Regions from separate parts of the Homo sapiens genome. Here all the other regions are linked to region 4. The links are contacts of gene promoters, found by promoter capture Hi-C in blood cells and fetal thymus (Javierre and others, 2016). All regions are on one chromosome and are shown on one strand. The core of a region is centred on a gene start or on the middle of the fragment in contact, and the rest is flanking DNA. Distances in the headings are between cores, read along the strand shown. Region 1 has its middle 160 kb from the start of CDCA7L. Region 2 has its middle 3.8 kb from the start of TRA2A. Region 3 overlaps CCDC126 (coiled-coil domain containing 126). Region 4 holds the start of HYCC1 (hyccin PI4KA lipid kinase complex subunit 1).

Region 1 (3,569 bases), core at 1,035-3,534, 900 kb before region 4:
GGGTGGGACCTGGCTGTATCCCTCAGAAAATCCGTGCTCTGTCCATCATGTTGTCATGCTGCCTGTTCATGGGCAGGGACTGGTCTCATTTCACTTTGTATCTTCATGCCTGCTGTGATCCCTGGCATATCTGATGAATGCATGAATGAGGTCACCAATACATAATCAAACATTTATTACATAGCGACCCCGTGAACTAACTAAGGCATGCCTCCTCCCATCCTGTGATTCTGCATAGTCACAGAATGTTAGAAAATCCGACTCAGAGATGATGACTTGCCCAAGGTCACGGTGCCAGAAGGATGGTAGAGTGGGAGCAGAACCTGTGTTTCCTGACTCATACTCCAGGGATCTTTCTTTTCTTTTTTTCTTTTTTTTGGAGATGGAGTCTCACTCTGTCACCCAGGCTGGGGTGCAGTGGCGCCATCTCGGCTCACTGCAACTCCGCCTCCCGGGTACATGCCATTTTCCTGCCTCAGCCTCCCGAGTAGGTGGGACTACAGGTGTCTGCCACCACGCCCGGCTAATTTTTTGTATTTTTAGTAGAGACGGGGTTTCACCGTGTTAGCCAGGGTGGGTCGATCTCCTGACCTTGTGATCCACCTGCCTCGGCCTCCAAAAGTGCTGGGATTACAGGCATGAGCCACTGCACCCGGCTGGGATCTTTCAGTTAGAGCTCTACATGAAATAAACTGAGGGGCAGAGGAAATAATGAGAGAAGACTGGGCTCTTTTCAACATCTAGCCGAAGACACTAAAGCAGCTCTGAAATGCCAGCATTTGCACTGTTTAAAAAACCCAAAGATTGGGAACTTATTTTCTTAAAAGGAAAGAAGAGTAACACGGTCAAAAAGGAGTGTTTTCCGCATCGGGAGGGCTTTGTACTGGAAAGAAACGGAGGAACTGCCACGTTTGGCACCCAGAAGGATGCCTTTTTTTTTTTTTCTGTGTGAATCCTCCCCACTCCCACCTCAGCCCACCCCGCAACAGTCAAGCTTTGGGTCCAAACCAATCTGGCATCTCTAAAATGGAAGCACTGTTTGGAGACAAAGTGGCCAGGCACTGCCGGCCAGAGAAAAGACAATGCCCCACACCCACGGCCTGCCCGCACTGAAATGCCTATTCATCTCCATTTTTATCGACATCTCTTGGCTTCCAGGCCCTGTTTGTGCTTTGTCCTTGGTCCTTATTGACCTATTGGATTCGGAGGGGAAGCTCAGCCGCAGGCAAATGGGTATTTTAATCCACAATGGAAAACATGGGTTCCTCTAGCGCCACTGGCAGCTCCCAGCATCTTGACCCTGACCTTTTCAGCAGCGTGTGGCCACACACTCTACCCAGGCCAAAGAACGAAAGGGCCCCAGGGCACACACTGGGGCCAAGAAAAGGAATCGAATGGTGGAATGTTGCTGACTTTTCCTTCTGGATCTGCCTTTGAGACTCTTGCATGGGAAAAAAGGGTGAAGAAGGGGCAGAAGCAAAGCTTAGTCTTTGTCTGATTCAGTCTTTGCACTCCCCCTGCCCCCTCCTCTGGCAGGCCATGGAGGCCACACCTGGCACACCTGGGCATGTTCCAGATGCTTATAAAGGTCCAGGGAAGCAGGGCTGCTCAGTCATTGTGAGGATCTGGGAAATTCTCAGTCCTCATGGGTTCTGTGAGCAGCCAAGGTGATCAGCCCTGACAGGATGGTCAGGATGGCAGTGAAGAGGCTTGATTGATTGACAGGTGAGCAGACGATGGGACTCTCGGCAGCCCTAATCAGCGAGAGAGTTGCTTCTGAGCACAGCTCAGCTAATGTCCCACGCTGTTCCGGAGCCTCAAGGAAGAATGGGCTGACGGTGGTCCCAGGCCTCCTAGACCAAGTGCAGCTGGCGCAGACCTCTGGCGTGGTTGACTCGGAACCCGTTCTGGGAACGTGAACTTGGATTCACCTTAGCAATAAGTGCTCAGGAATGTGTTGGAATTGCTGCCAGCTCCTGGGACAGGCAGACCCCAGAACACTGGAAGAGATCTGAAGCCCTGGCACCCCTACCAGCCCCATGGGCTCCACATTCAATCAAGCAGGTCATCGGTTATCTCTACCTTCACATGGCCTGGAAGCCCAGCAGGCAGGGTTTGCTCTGTGATATGACAATGCTGCTGAGTCTCCTGTCACTCACCGCAGCACCTCTGCGTAGTAAACGGCGTCTTTCCTGGGTCTATGACAGTTACCATAGCTCTTCCAGGACCACAGAAGTACCTACCTTGTTCTGGTTTTGTGATCAACACTGATACATAAATGTAAAGAAGGCAACCGGTGCTTGAGGGGACATCTAGTGTATTGGGAGGTGAGGAGCAGGCCAACTAGTTCAGAGGCTCTGACTTGGTTGGAGAGGGGTAAACCCAGGTGTTACGAGGGTGCTTGGTTGGGGGGAATCTGGTGTAGGCTAGAGGGGCCAGTGCAGGTTTCCTGGGGGTGCTGAGACCTGGGGCATGAAGAAGAGTTACTTATGTGAGGAGGAGAGAGGAGCTCCAGGCCAGAAAGTCCACATCCACTACACCAGAAGCTCCACCCGTTCCGGAACCACACTCCCTGGACTGGCTCTGGAATGTACACCCATGTTTAGCACAGCGCCTCCTAGTGTTCCCAAGTCCCCACTCGCTACTTGGCTGTTGAACAAATAAGCTCAAAGGTCTGGAGGTGAGTGCCTGAACGTTTTAGCTGGGCTGGAGTGGACCTGAGGAATGTGTCCCCTGGGGTGTGGGGCAGGAACAGGGAGCAGAAGCCAGAGGTGAGGCTGGGGAAGGACAGTGGCTGGGAAGTTGCTTTTGGGCACTTGCACTTTCTCCTGAGGGCCAGCGGTCGGAGTGGGGGAAGACTGGAGACCTGCTTCTCCATCCTTTCCCTGCCCTCACTTTCTTCATTTTCTTAGGAGCCAACAGACCTGTGCAAACCTCAGCTTTCCCCAGTTCAGCTCCTTTTCCATCTTCTTGATTTCTGTATTTTTAAAAAAACAAGGCTGCATTATATTGTAGGAGAACAATAACCCACTGGACCACATCCTGGTAAGGAAGAGCTGCAAAGCCATGGCCTCATCACTGTAGACATAAGCTTCCAACAGTGCCCCATTGTGGCATTTGATTTAACTCAGCCCTTCAAAAACATGCATTTCTGACTTAAATTCTGCACACCATCACCATATCCCCAGCAGATGTCGCTAACGTCTCACATTTTGGTCATGCCAGCAGCACGCATCTCAGGCAACAAATATTTATTAAGCAGCGAATGTGCATTGTGCACCAGGCTGAGCACTTTGTAGATAAAAATTCCTGGGGCATGACCCAGGACATGAAGAAAAGTTACTTAAGTGAGGAGGAGAGAAGAGATCCAGATCATTTTTTGATGACAAAAGAAGGTAACATAAAAAAATAATGGACTGTCTGAAAAGTTCTTTCCCATTGAGGTACAAGTTTGTTTCTGGCTATGCAATGTGAAATTGGAACTGAATGTCTGGGACCACCTCGAAGCTTGTTTCAAAGGCCTATTACTACGTGTCTTTTAGACAGATTTTATTTCAGCTTGCCTAATT
Region 2 (3,595 bases), core at 248-2,747, 520 kb after region 4:
CTTAGATCTAGCCAACAGTTTACAGGAAATACAAGAAAGGGAAAAATAAAAACACCGAGATGAAGTAATCAACTTCCACAGGACAAATAACCACATTCCCCAACAGATTAAATTCACAATCAAGGATGGGAGAAAGGTAGACTATTATGGACTAAGAGTCTTCCCCCCTACCCTTTTTTCCTTTTATTTATTTTTTGGAGACATAATCTGACTCTGTCACCCAGGCTGGAGTGCAGTGGCACAATCATGGCTCCAACGATCCTCCCACCACACCCTCTCACATAGCTGGGACTACAGGCCCCCAACACCATGCCCAGCTAATTTTTAAATTATTGTAGAGACCAGGTTTTGCCATGTTGCCCAGGCTGCTCTCAAACTCCTGGGCTCAAGTGATCCTGCCGCCTAGGCCTCCCAAAGTGTTGAGGAACCAGGCCGGGCCTAGAAGAGTAGTTTCTTTTTTCTTTGCCTTTTTTTTTGAGACAGAGTTTCACTCCCGTGCCCAGGCTGGAGTACAGTGGCACAGTCTTGGCTCACTGCAACCTCTGTCTCTCGGGCTCTAGAGATTATTCTGCCTTAGCCTCCCCAGTAGCTGAGACCACAGGTGCATGCCACTGTGCTCGGCTAATTTTTGTATTTTTTTGTAGAGACGGGGTTTTGATGTTGGCCAGGCTAGTCTCTAACTCCTGGCCTCGAGTGATCCACCCACCTCGGCCTCCCAAAGTGCCGGGATGATAGGAGATATTTGCTTTATGAGTTATAATCCATTGCTATCATTATTTATTTTGTTGCTTGAATTGTCCCAGATTTCAGTTATAAACTTTTGATATGTTTAAACATATATATAATGTCCTTTTTTCGGAATTGTCTATTTTCCATTTTTCTTTTTTTTTTTTTCCGAGACGGAGTTTCACTCTTGTTGCCCAGGCTGGAGTGCAATGGCACGATCTCAGCTCACTGCAACCTCCGCCTCCCGGGTTAAAGCGATTCTCCTGCCTCAGCCTCTCGAGTAGCTGGGATTACAGGCATGCGCCAGCACGTCTGGCTAATTTTGTATTTTTAGTAGAGACGGGGTTTCTCCAGGTTGGTCCGGCTGGTCTCGAACTCCCGACCTCAGGTGATCCGCCCACCTCGGCCTCCCAAAGTGCTGGGATTACAGGTGTGAGCCACTGTGCCCGGCCTATTTTCCATTTTTCTATTGGATTTTTATCCTTTGTCCCTCAAGTTTTATGAGTTCCTTGTATATTAGGAATATTAGCCTTTTATTTGTGCTTTATGTTGCAAATATTTTCTCCTAGTTTGTAAATTGTATTTGACTTTGCTTATGGTATATTTTGCATACTATTTTTTGATTTTTTAATTTAATTAATTAATTTTACTATGGCAATAAAAGATTCCCAAATTAGCATACTTTTTTTTTTTGAGACTGAATTTTGCTCTTGTTGCCCAGGCTGGAGTGCAATGGCTCATTCTCGGCTCACTGCAACCTCCGCCTCCCAAGTAGCTGGGCTTACAGGCATGCACCACCACACCCAGCTAATTTTTGTATTTTTTAGTAGAGATGGGTTTTCACCATGTTGGCCAGGCTGGTCTTGAACTCCTGACTTCAGGTGATCCACCCACCTTGGCCTCCCAAAGTGCTGGGATTACAGGCGTGAGCCACTGTGCCTGGCCACTATTTTTTTTTTTTTTTTGAAATGGAATCTTGCCCTGTCGCCCAGGCTGGAGTGTAATGGCGCAATCTCGCCTCACTGCAACCTCCACCTCCAGGTTCAAGCGATTCTCCTGCCTCAGCCTCCTGAGCTGGGATTACAGGTGAGGACCACCACGTCCGGCTAATTTTTGTATTTTTAGTAGAGATGGGGTTTCACCGTATTGGTCAGGCTGGTCTCAAACTCCTGACCTCGTGATCCGCATGCCTCGGCCTCCCAAAGTGTTGGGATTACAGGTGTGAGCCAGTGCACCCGGCTGCCCCTGGATTTTAAGTCATAGTTAGCCTTTTCCCATACTGAGATTAAAGAGGAATTCACTATGTTTTCTTCTAGTAGTTATGTAGCTTCATATTTTACATTTAGATTCGTGATCCATTTGGCATTTGTTCTTATGTATGATGTGGACTATAGATCTAATTTTACCTTTTCCAAATGGCTACCCAGTGATCCCAGCATTAAAAAGCCCATCTTTGCTTTTTAGATGTCACCTTTGTTATACACTACATTTTCTTACGGAGTTGAGTCTATTTCTGGGTTTTCTGTTTCCCTGGTCATACACCAGTGCCACACTGTTTTAATATAGAGGCTTTCAAATTTTTGTTTGTTTTTTTATTGTTTGAGATGGAGTCTCGCTCTGTCAGCAGGCTGGAGTGCAGTGGCACAATCTTGACTCACTGCAACCTCTGCCTCCCTGGTTCAAGCGATCCTCCTGCCTTAGCCTCCCAAGTAGCTGAGACTACAGGCACTCACCACCATGCCCAGCTAATTTTTTGTATTTTTAGTAGAGACAGGGTTTCACCATGTTGGTCAGGCTGGTCTTGATCTCTTGACTTCATGATCCACCCACCTCGGCCTCCCAAAGTTCTGGGATTACAGGCGTGAGCCACCACGCCCAGCCAGGCTTTCAAATTTTTATGTCTGATTGGGCAAGTCCCCCTTCCTATATATTTTTAAGTAAGTCTCATTGCTTAATAGCCACAATTCATTTTAAAAATCTTTTTTATTTTGTTTTATTTATTTTCGAGACAAGTTCTCACTCCGTTGCCCAGGCTGATTCTCCCACCTTAGCTTCCAGAGTAGCTGAGACTACAGGCATGTGCCACCACACCCACCTAATTTTTTTTTCTTTCTCTTTTTCTTTTTTTTTTTGAGAGGGAGTTTTGCTCTTGTTGCCCAGGCTGGAGTGAAATGGGGTGATCTCGGCTTACTGCAACCTCTACCTCCCAGGTTCAAGCAATTCTCCTGCCTCAGCCTCCTGAGTAGCTGGAATTATAGGCATGCGCCACAACTCCCAGCTAATTTTTTTGGTACTTTTAGTAGAAACGGGGTTTCTCTATGTTGGTCAGGCTGGTCTCGACCTCCTGACCTCAGGTGATCTGCCCACCTCAGCCTCCCAAAGTGCTGGGATTACAGGCGTGAGCCACCATGCCCAACTTTTTTTTTTATTTTTTAAGCAGAGATGAGGTCTCACCATGTTACTCAGGCCGGGTCTTGAATTCCTGAGCTCAAGTGATCCTCCTGCCTTGGCTTCCCAAAGTGCTGGGATTACAGGTGTGAGCCACCATGCCCAGCTTTTTTTTAAAATTTTTTAAGCAGAGATGAGGTCTCACCATGTTACTCATGCTGGGTCTTGAATTCCTGAGCTCAAGTGATCCTCCTGCCTTGGCTTCCCAAAGTGCTGGGATTACAGGTGTGAGCAACCGTGCCTGGCTCCTTGGGAGAAATTGAAAATGTGAGTGTGTGAAGTATCTTTCCTCTCCCAAAACCCAATCTCTCACTTTTGGCATGTGAGGAGTGTTTGGGTATTTGAGGCTAACTCTCCTTATTCATGTCTTACTGGGAGTTTAGGAGAGGATCCTGCATGAGGAGCAATATTAGAAATAGGA
Region 3 (3,247 bases), core at 549-3,048, 590 kb after region 4:
AAGGGGCGAGTCCGCCAGCCGGGCCCGCACCTCTCGCGCGCCCCTCAGCCTAGCCGGCCGCTCCTCCCCCGCCGCGCCCCCGTCCCCGGTCCCCGCCCCGCTAGGGCCGCTGCTGCGGAAACCCGGCTTAGGAACGGGCCGGCAGCCTCCGGCCGCGGCCGGGAAGGCTCTTTGTCCCTTCCTTTGGGCCGCGTCTCTGCCCCTCCGCGTCTGACAGCCGCGGCGCCTCGGCTCGGGCGGAGAGCCGAGCGTGGCTGGGGCTGCGCGAGTCGAGCGGGGCGGGCTTGGTCCGGAGCTGCGGGATGTAGATCCCGGGCGGCACCGCACTCACTTCTTTTTCTGTTTTTGACAGCTCAGTTCTCTTCTACTTTGGGAGAGAGAGAAAGTCAGATGCCCCTTTTAAACTCCCTCTTCAAAACTCATCTCCTGGGTGACTGGTAAGGATGAACTTAAACTGCCGTGTTGATTGTTGACTGTGACGGTAATGAGAATGGCTCAGCCAGCTAGGGTTCGAATCCTGCCTGGGTTTCTCTCACTGCCTGCCTTGGTGATCTTGGTTACTTAAAGGCTCTAAGCTTGAGTTTTCTCATCCATCAAAACACACACCTGTAAGTGGTTAGAATTAGGAATATAGACCTATAACGTCATTAGTTCTTCATTTGATGAAAAGATCCTTTGTGATACTTTCATTAGCTATGACTGAAGTGACCGAAGTGGCCTCTGGACTTGAGTTTTGTGCTTTTGTTTGTTTAATCATCCTGGGTTGTGTGTTCTTCACTTTATCTTAAACCTAACCAAAGGATTCATTAAAATATGCCGTCTTCCTAATTTTTGCTGTTTTAAGATGGCTGAGAATGTTCTTAGGAAATTGATGACTCTGCTTTTCTGTGGATCAGCTTCAGAGGTACAAGTATTCACCTCTCCCCTCCCCCTCAGGTGTGTCCTTTGGGAATCCTTAGAGGCGCTAAGTGTTTGTTTCGTCAGAGTAGGCATCCAGGTATTTTACAGTCCTGCCTCTGGGCTTCACCATATTTAACCTGGGTCAACTTTTTTCTACATCTGTCTGCATCTTCTCACTGATTAATAATTTCTCACTCTAAAATGTGTTGCAAAAATACTTGTTTTGAGGAAAATGTTTCTATGTTGGTGTTATTTAGTGCAGTGTAGGACAGAGAGTAATGGCTACGGAAATAGGAGTCCTTAGTTTTGTCCTTGCTCTGTCACTATCTGTGTAACCTGAGATTACTTTGTGGTCCTCAATGTCCTCATCTCTAAAATAGTGAATTGGTCTGATTCCAAGGACTCTTCTAGCTCAGACTTTCAATGATAAAGGTTTTTAGAGGTTTTTTTTTAAATGTGGAAACAAAATTTGTGTAAACCCTTTTAGTCATTTGTGTTCTTAGTGTTTCTTCCTGCTTCAGGTCATATAATTCTTTCAAACTACCTTGAAAGAAGGAATACATTTAAGAGAACAAGAAAGCTGCCAGAAATAAGAATCTCTACCAGCCAGTTATCACTCTCTCATGAGCTGCACAGTTTCTCTGCATTTTTGACATGCTTTGTTCTCTTTCTCCCTACTCTGTATCTTTTGCTCATAGCCCCTATACCTGTTGTGCCTGATTCTTCATAACTTTAGCTTGTCAATCCCCTCATCCAACTTTATTATTTATTTTCATGACTTCTCCTTCAGCTCCTTCTGCCAACTGCCTGGTTTTCCCTGGGGCCTCTTTGTTTGAGGCCAGAGATGCTAGCCTAGTTGGCTTTGGAAGGGGAGGTGGGGACATGTGGCACAAAACATGATTGGCCACGGCTGTGACAGGTGAAGCTCTGTGATTGAAGTATCTAGTGCTGCATAGTGTGTGTCTATGTATATGTATATATATAGGTTTTGTTGTTTTTTTTTTTTGAGACAGAGTCTTACTCTGTCACCCAGGCTGTAGTGCAGTGGTGCTGGCTCACTGCAACTTCTACCTTTTGGGTTCAAGCAATTCTTGTACCTCATGCCTGGCTAATTTTTGTAGTTTTAGTAGAGACAGGGTCTCACCATGTTGGTCAGGCTGGTCTTGAACTTCTGACCTCAAGTGATCTGCCTATGTCAGCTTCCCAAATGGTGGGATTATAGGTGTGAGCCCTGGAGCCCGGCCTGCATAGTTTATTTTATTGCATATTTTAGTTTAGTTAGTTTAGTTTGAGACAGCCTTGCTCTTTCACTCAGCTTGGAGTGCAGTGGTGCGATCTCTGCACACTGCATCCTCTACCTCCCAGGTTCAAGCGATTCTTGTACCTCAGCCATCCAAGTAACTGGGTTTACAGGCATGCACCACCATGCCTGGCTAATTTTTGTATTTTTAGTAGAGATGGGGTTTCACCATGTTGACCAGACTGGTCTTGAATGCCTGACCTCAAGTGATCCGCCCTCTTCAGCCTCCCAAGGTGCTGGGATCACAGGCATGAGCCACCACGCCAGGCCATATTTTAAATTAAACTTTTACTGTAGCATAATGGTTAGTTTTCTTTTTGCCTTAACATTTTCTGTTTTTATCCCTGCCTCACTTTACCATTTTTCTTTTATCTGTTTTTGTAATATTCAGTGCTATTGTCTTCTATTCTGTCTCCCAAATGTGCCATCTAAAAATGATCTGATATCTTGACACTCATTATTTCCGTATCTTAGCTGGAATTTTAGTGTAGCTTCTCTCAAGGCAGTGCATTTTAAATCTTAGACCTTATTATGGAGCGAATGGCTGTGTTCTGTGTTAACCCCCCCCCCCCCACCACCATATTAGCCTCAGGCAGTGTTACATAGAGAAAATATTTTAGGAATGCCCCTTTTTCCCTGAAATTACATTCCGGGGTCAAGTCTGTGGAGGACTTTTTTTTGGGTCGTTTTTGGAGAGAACTATTTGAACCTCTGAGCTGTGGTGAACATACTGTGTCTTTTTGTAGTAAATCTATGCCTCTCTAGCTGAAATTCCTTTGGAGACTAATAGGCAGTAGTTCTTCTAGTACCTTTGGCTGAGTGAAAGCTTCTCTGCCTGCTAGTTGCTGCTATTGCTGTTGATAGTTACTTTAGCTATAGTTATAATGGCACAAAATGTAGAGCACTGAATAGATGCAAAAATGAGATTTGAATGAGAGATTTTAAGGTATGATTAGCCATCTATTTGTGTTTTTAATATTGCTGTTGCTATGTTTGCATAAAATACAAGGAAGTACTTCATGACAGATGACAGGGAGTGTGAAATGC
Region 4 (3,169 bases), core at 629-3,128:
CATATATTTAAACTCACCGTCAAAGACACCAGTCTAAAAAATACAACCCAGAGCAAATTTCATAAAACAGAAATACAACAATGAAAGGAAGCAGAGCAAGGATAAACGCTGACCCAGCTAATGCCTTATCGGGTGTCTGTATCCAGGTACTGCTAATGCCGATGACTAAGAAGGTTTCTAATCCTTCTAATCCCTCATGGTAATTTCAATAAATCGAATAAGGATAAACGAGCCAAATCCAGAATTTGTTTCCTAAATATGTGATGCTTTTCCCCCTTGCCACTTGGTTTGATTGAACTGATTATTTGAATAGCTGACTTTGAAGCCACTATTGGCCAAGCAGATCTTAAATGTTTTTCCTTCCTTGTCTTTGCCTGCACTTCAAAAATATGGTGGTTTAGACTACTATTCATCCTGTAAACCTTAAAATGTATTCACCTAAAGAAAAAAAAATACTTGGAAATGTCGGGGGAGGTGGGGTGCCTGTGGATGTTAGCAGTAGAATGTTTTCATGGAAAACAAGCCTCCCAGTCTTTCTGACTTTATGGCAATAAGATTTGAAAGCTGAAAACCTCAAACTGTAAAGTGTTACATGAACCAAAGAGGTGGCCCACCTGCTCCAAAAACTACTGTGTGATCCAAGGATAAATAATTTGCAAAAGGTCAGCTTGGCCCTACTGCCTGTAGGGCAGTCTCTGAGATAAGAAGTAGCTGCCGGTGGAACAAATTCCCCCTACCTGAAGAGCGCCGCGGCTGCCAGGCTTGTGATAGTGTATTTCTCAGAGAGCAGATTCTGTGCAGTACTAAACCACTTAGGCAAAATTAAAATCTTTCAGGAATGTCTAAACTCACAAAGCACACATGTGCAAGCTGACGGGCAGACAGCAAATTTCGGGGAAGCGTACAAACTTGGGGGTGTTTTAATGCAACCATTTTCAGCCAAACCCCCGAGGATTCCCGAGTATGTTAAAATGAGCCTCAGGAGAGGAATAACTCATAGAAAGAAGGGGCAAGGGCTCAAGAAGAGATCTTCAGCGAAATAACCAAGGAAGGAAGCGTGGCTGCTGTCTGAACCTCTCCGCCCTGCAGGGGACCAAAGACCGACTCGGGCCAACGCTGCTCTCCAGGGGGCGAGGGCGGGGGGTCGACAGTGACCATTGTGGCCACCAGACCGGACGGACAGTGGCGGCCTCGCCGAAGTAGAGGGCGCGAGTGGGAGAGGAGGCAGAGGCCAGAGCATCCGCCGCGGCAGGGAGGGGACGGGGGGCTCCCGCCCCAGGCCCACCCGGCAGAGGGGCGGCCGGTGGGGCCGAGGCGGCGGCACCCGGGTCACAGCAGGAGGCTGGACTGCTCCTCGCCGGGAAGGAAAGACCCGAGTCGCGCGCACAAAGCTGCCGCCCTCCAGGCAGCGGGCAGGCTGCGCCCAACTTCGGGGCGAGCAGCGCCGGCCGCAGCCCACCCGCCCGCCAGCCGCCCCCAGCGCCCCGCGCCGCCTCGCACCCACCCATGGCGCCTCGCGCGGGAGCCGTTACCCCCAGTGGAGCCGCGGCCCCAGGGACAAAGTCCCGGTCCTGTCCTCGCCGCCGCCTCGCCCCGGCTCCTCCCTGACAAAAAAAAGTTATCCGTTGCCGGACGCCCTGGGGGCCCGGCGTGGGTCTCTCGGCTGGACTCACCAGGGCGGCTGCCGGAGCTCCACCTGCAGGACCTCGACTCGTGAGGCTCTCAGCGACAGCGACGGAGGCTGCTCTGCTTCCTCCCGAGTAGCAGCACCACCTGCTCCCCTTCTTCCTAGCAGAACGGGTCCCGGTGAGCCATCTTCCCCCTCCTCTCACTGACTGACAACCCAGCCGGGAGAGCCACCACTGCCGCCAGCCTCTCTGACAGGCACGACCAGGGACCCGTCCTCAAGCAGCCAACCACCACCGCCCCACGCCAGTTCAGCCTATCGCCGTCCTCCGGGGCGGGATCAGAACAACTTCTCCACCAATGAGAATCTTCTTCTGCTGGGCCTGGGGCGGAGCCATGAGGCGCCTTGAGTGGGCGTGGTCTGAGCAATGGGCGTGATCCGGGCGTCCGAGGGAAGTTGATTGACTGTAAGGTTTGCGGTGGCCGCTAGGCGATGACAATCAGCGAAGGTCTCTTAGATTCTGAGCCGTTAGGGCTTATGGCCTTCTCAGAAAAAAATAAACCTTACCGGATGATGTGAAGGGTATCAATTTGTTTCTCTTTTGTGAGAAAAGAGAAACAAATTGATAATTTACTAGTCAGTAGGATTTACTTCCCTGTAATTAAATTCACAAGAATTTATCAAAATCTTATCAAATCCCGGGAGGAAAAAAAAATTACGTTTTTGCAAAATGGAAATACAAACTTCCCCCTCACTACATCATTGCTTTTGGGCTTAGCCTGGAAAAAGTCAAATACGATGCCTCAGTTTTCTTTCCATGGGGGTTGTTTTTATTTTTTCCATCATTCCTCCCTACTTTTTCTCTGAACATATACTAAATGTTTTGTATAATAACTGGAACCCGAGAACACCTGAACCTGCGCCTGCAGACAGTACTGCTGTTTTTGACCTTGTAAACCTCTCCTACCACATCCTTCTCAAGACTGGTCAGGATTAATTAGAAGAAAAACTGACCTCCACCCTAGAAGACAGGAAGTTCATTCTAGCTTTACACTAGAAATGGGCAGGATTTCTCCAGAAACACTAAGTGAACTTTTCAAACATGCTGAACTCATAAATAACAAGCACATAAATAAGAAGATATATTACTTGATATCAAAAGGGTATCAAGCAAACAATTTCAGGTAATTATTAGGGCAGATTGCTAAAACAGATAGGATCCCCCTCCAAAGGGAGGATCAGATTAATGAGTAAATAATAACAAACTACAGTGATAAGGACAATAGAGATTGGTTCAATGAGCAATGGAAACAGAGGACAAGAAATGACTGTTTAGGAAAGTCAGCGAACTCCACAAGGAAGGTAATGTTTGAGTTGGATCTTAAAAGGTAAATGGGAGTTTGCCAGAGAAGAAAGTCAAAGGGTATTTCAGAAAGGGAGAACACCATGTTCAAAGGCATGGAGCTGTGAAAGGGCACAGAGCCATTGTGGAATGTTGAGAAGGTAGATGGGGTTAAATGATGAGGAACGGCCAAAAATTGG

The links. The method cuts DNA at HindIII sites, captures the fragments that hold promoters and counts their contacts. A CHiCAGO score of 5 or more calls a contact.
Region 1: a contact is called between a fragment that was not itself captured here and the fragment with the promoter of HYCC1 in region 4, in 1 of 17 cell types (fetal thymus). The highest score is 5.9, in fetal thymus.
Region 2: a contact is called between a fragment that was not itself captured here and the fragment with the promoter of HYCC1 in region 4, in 1 of 17 cell types (neutrophils). The highest score is 9.1, in neutrophils.
Region 3: a contact is called between a fragment that was not itself captured here and the fragment with the promoter of HYCC1 in region 4, in 1 of 17 cell types (neutrophils). The highest score is 5.7, in neutrophils.

The regions. Positions count from the first base shown.
Region 1 is chr7:22,107,275-22,110,843 of GRCh38, forward strand. No RefSeq gene overlaps it. Among named protein-coding and RNA genes, the nearest start is that of CDCA7L, 160 kb to the left of the region's middle. The HindIII fragment of the contact is 1,609 bases long and covers 1,481-3,089 here.
Region 2 is chr7:23,534,030-23,537,624 of GRCh38, forward strand. No RefSeq gene overlaps it. Among named protein-coding and RNA genes, the nearest start is that of TRA2A, 3.8 kb to the left of the region's middle. The HindIII fragment of the contact is 4,760 bases long and covers 1-3,595 here.
Region 3 is chr7:23,597,615-23,600,861 of GRCh38, forward strand. CCDC126 (coiled-coil domain containing 126) reads left to right here. Exons shown (of 4, transcript NM_138771.4): 2 at 353-437. Among named protein-coding and RNA genes, the nearest start is that of CCDC126, 1.9 kb to the left of the region's middle. RefSeq lists a silencer at 10-249. The HindIII fragment of the contact is 2,451 bases long and covers 574-3,024 here.
Region 4 is chr7:23,012,252-23,015,420 of GRCh38, forward strand. It overlaps HYCC1 (hyccin PI4KA lipid kinase complex subunit 1), which reads right to left and starts at 1,879. Exons shown (of 11, transcript NM_032581.4): 1 at 1,674-1,879. RefSeq lists enhancers at 581-1,262, 1,680-1,869, 2,030-2,209 and a silencer at 1,220-1,489. The HindIII fragment of the contact is 9,152 bases long and covers 1-3,169 here.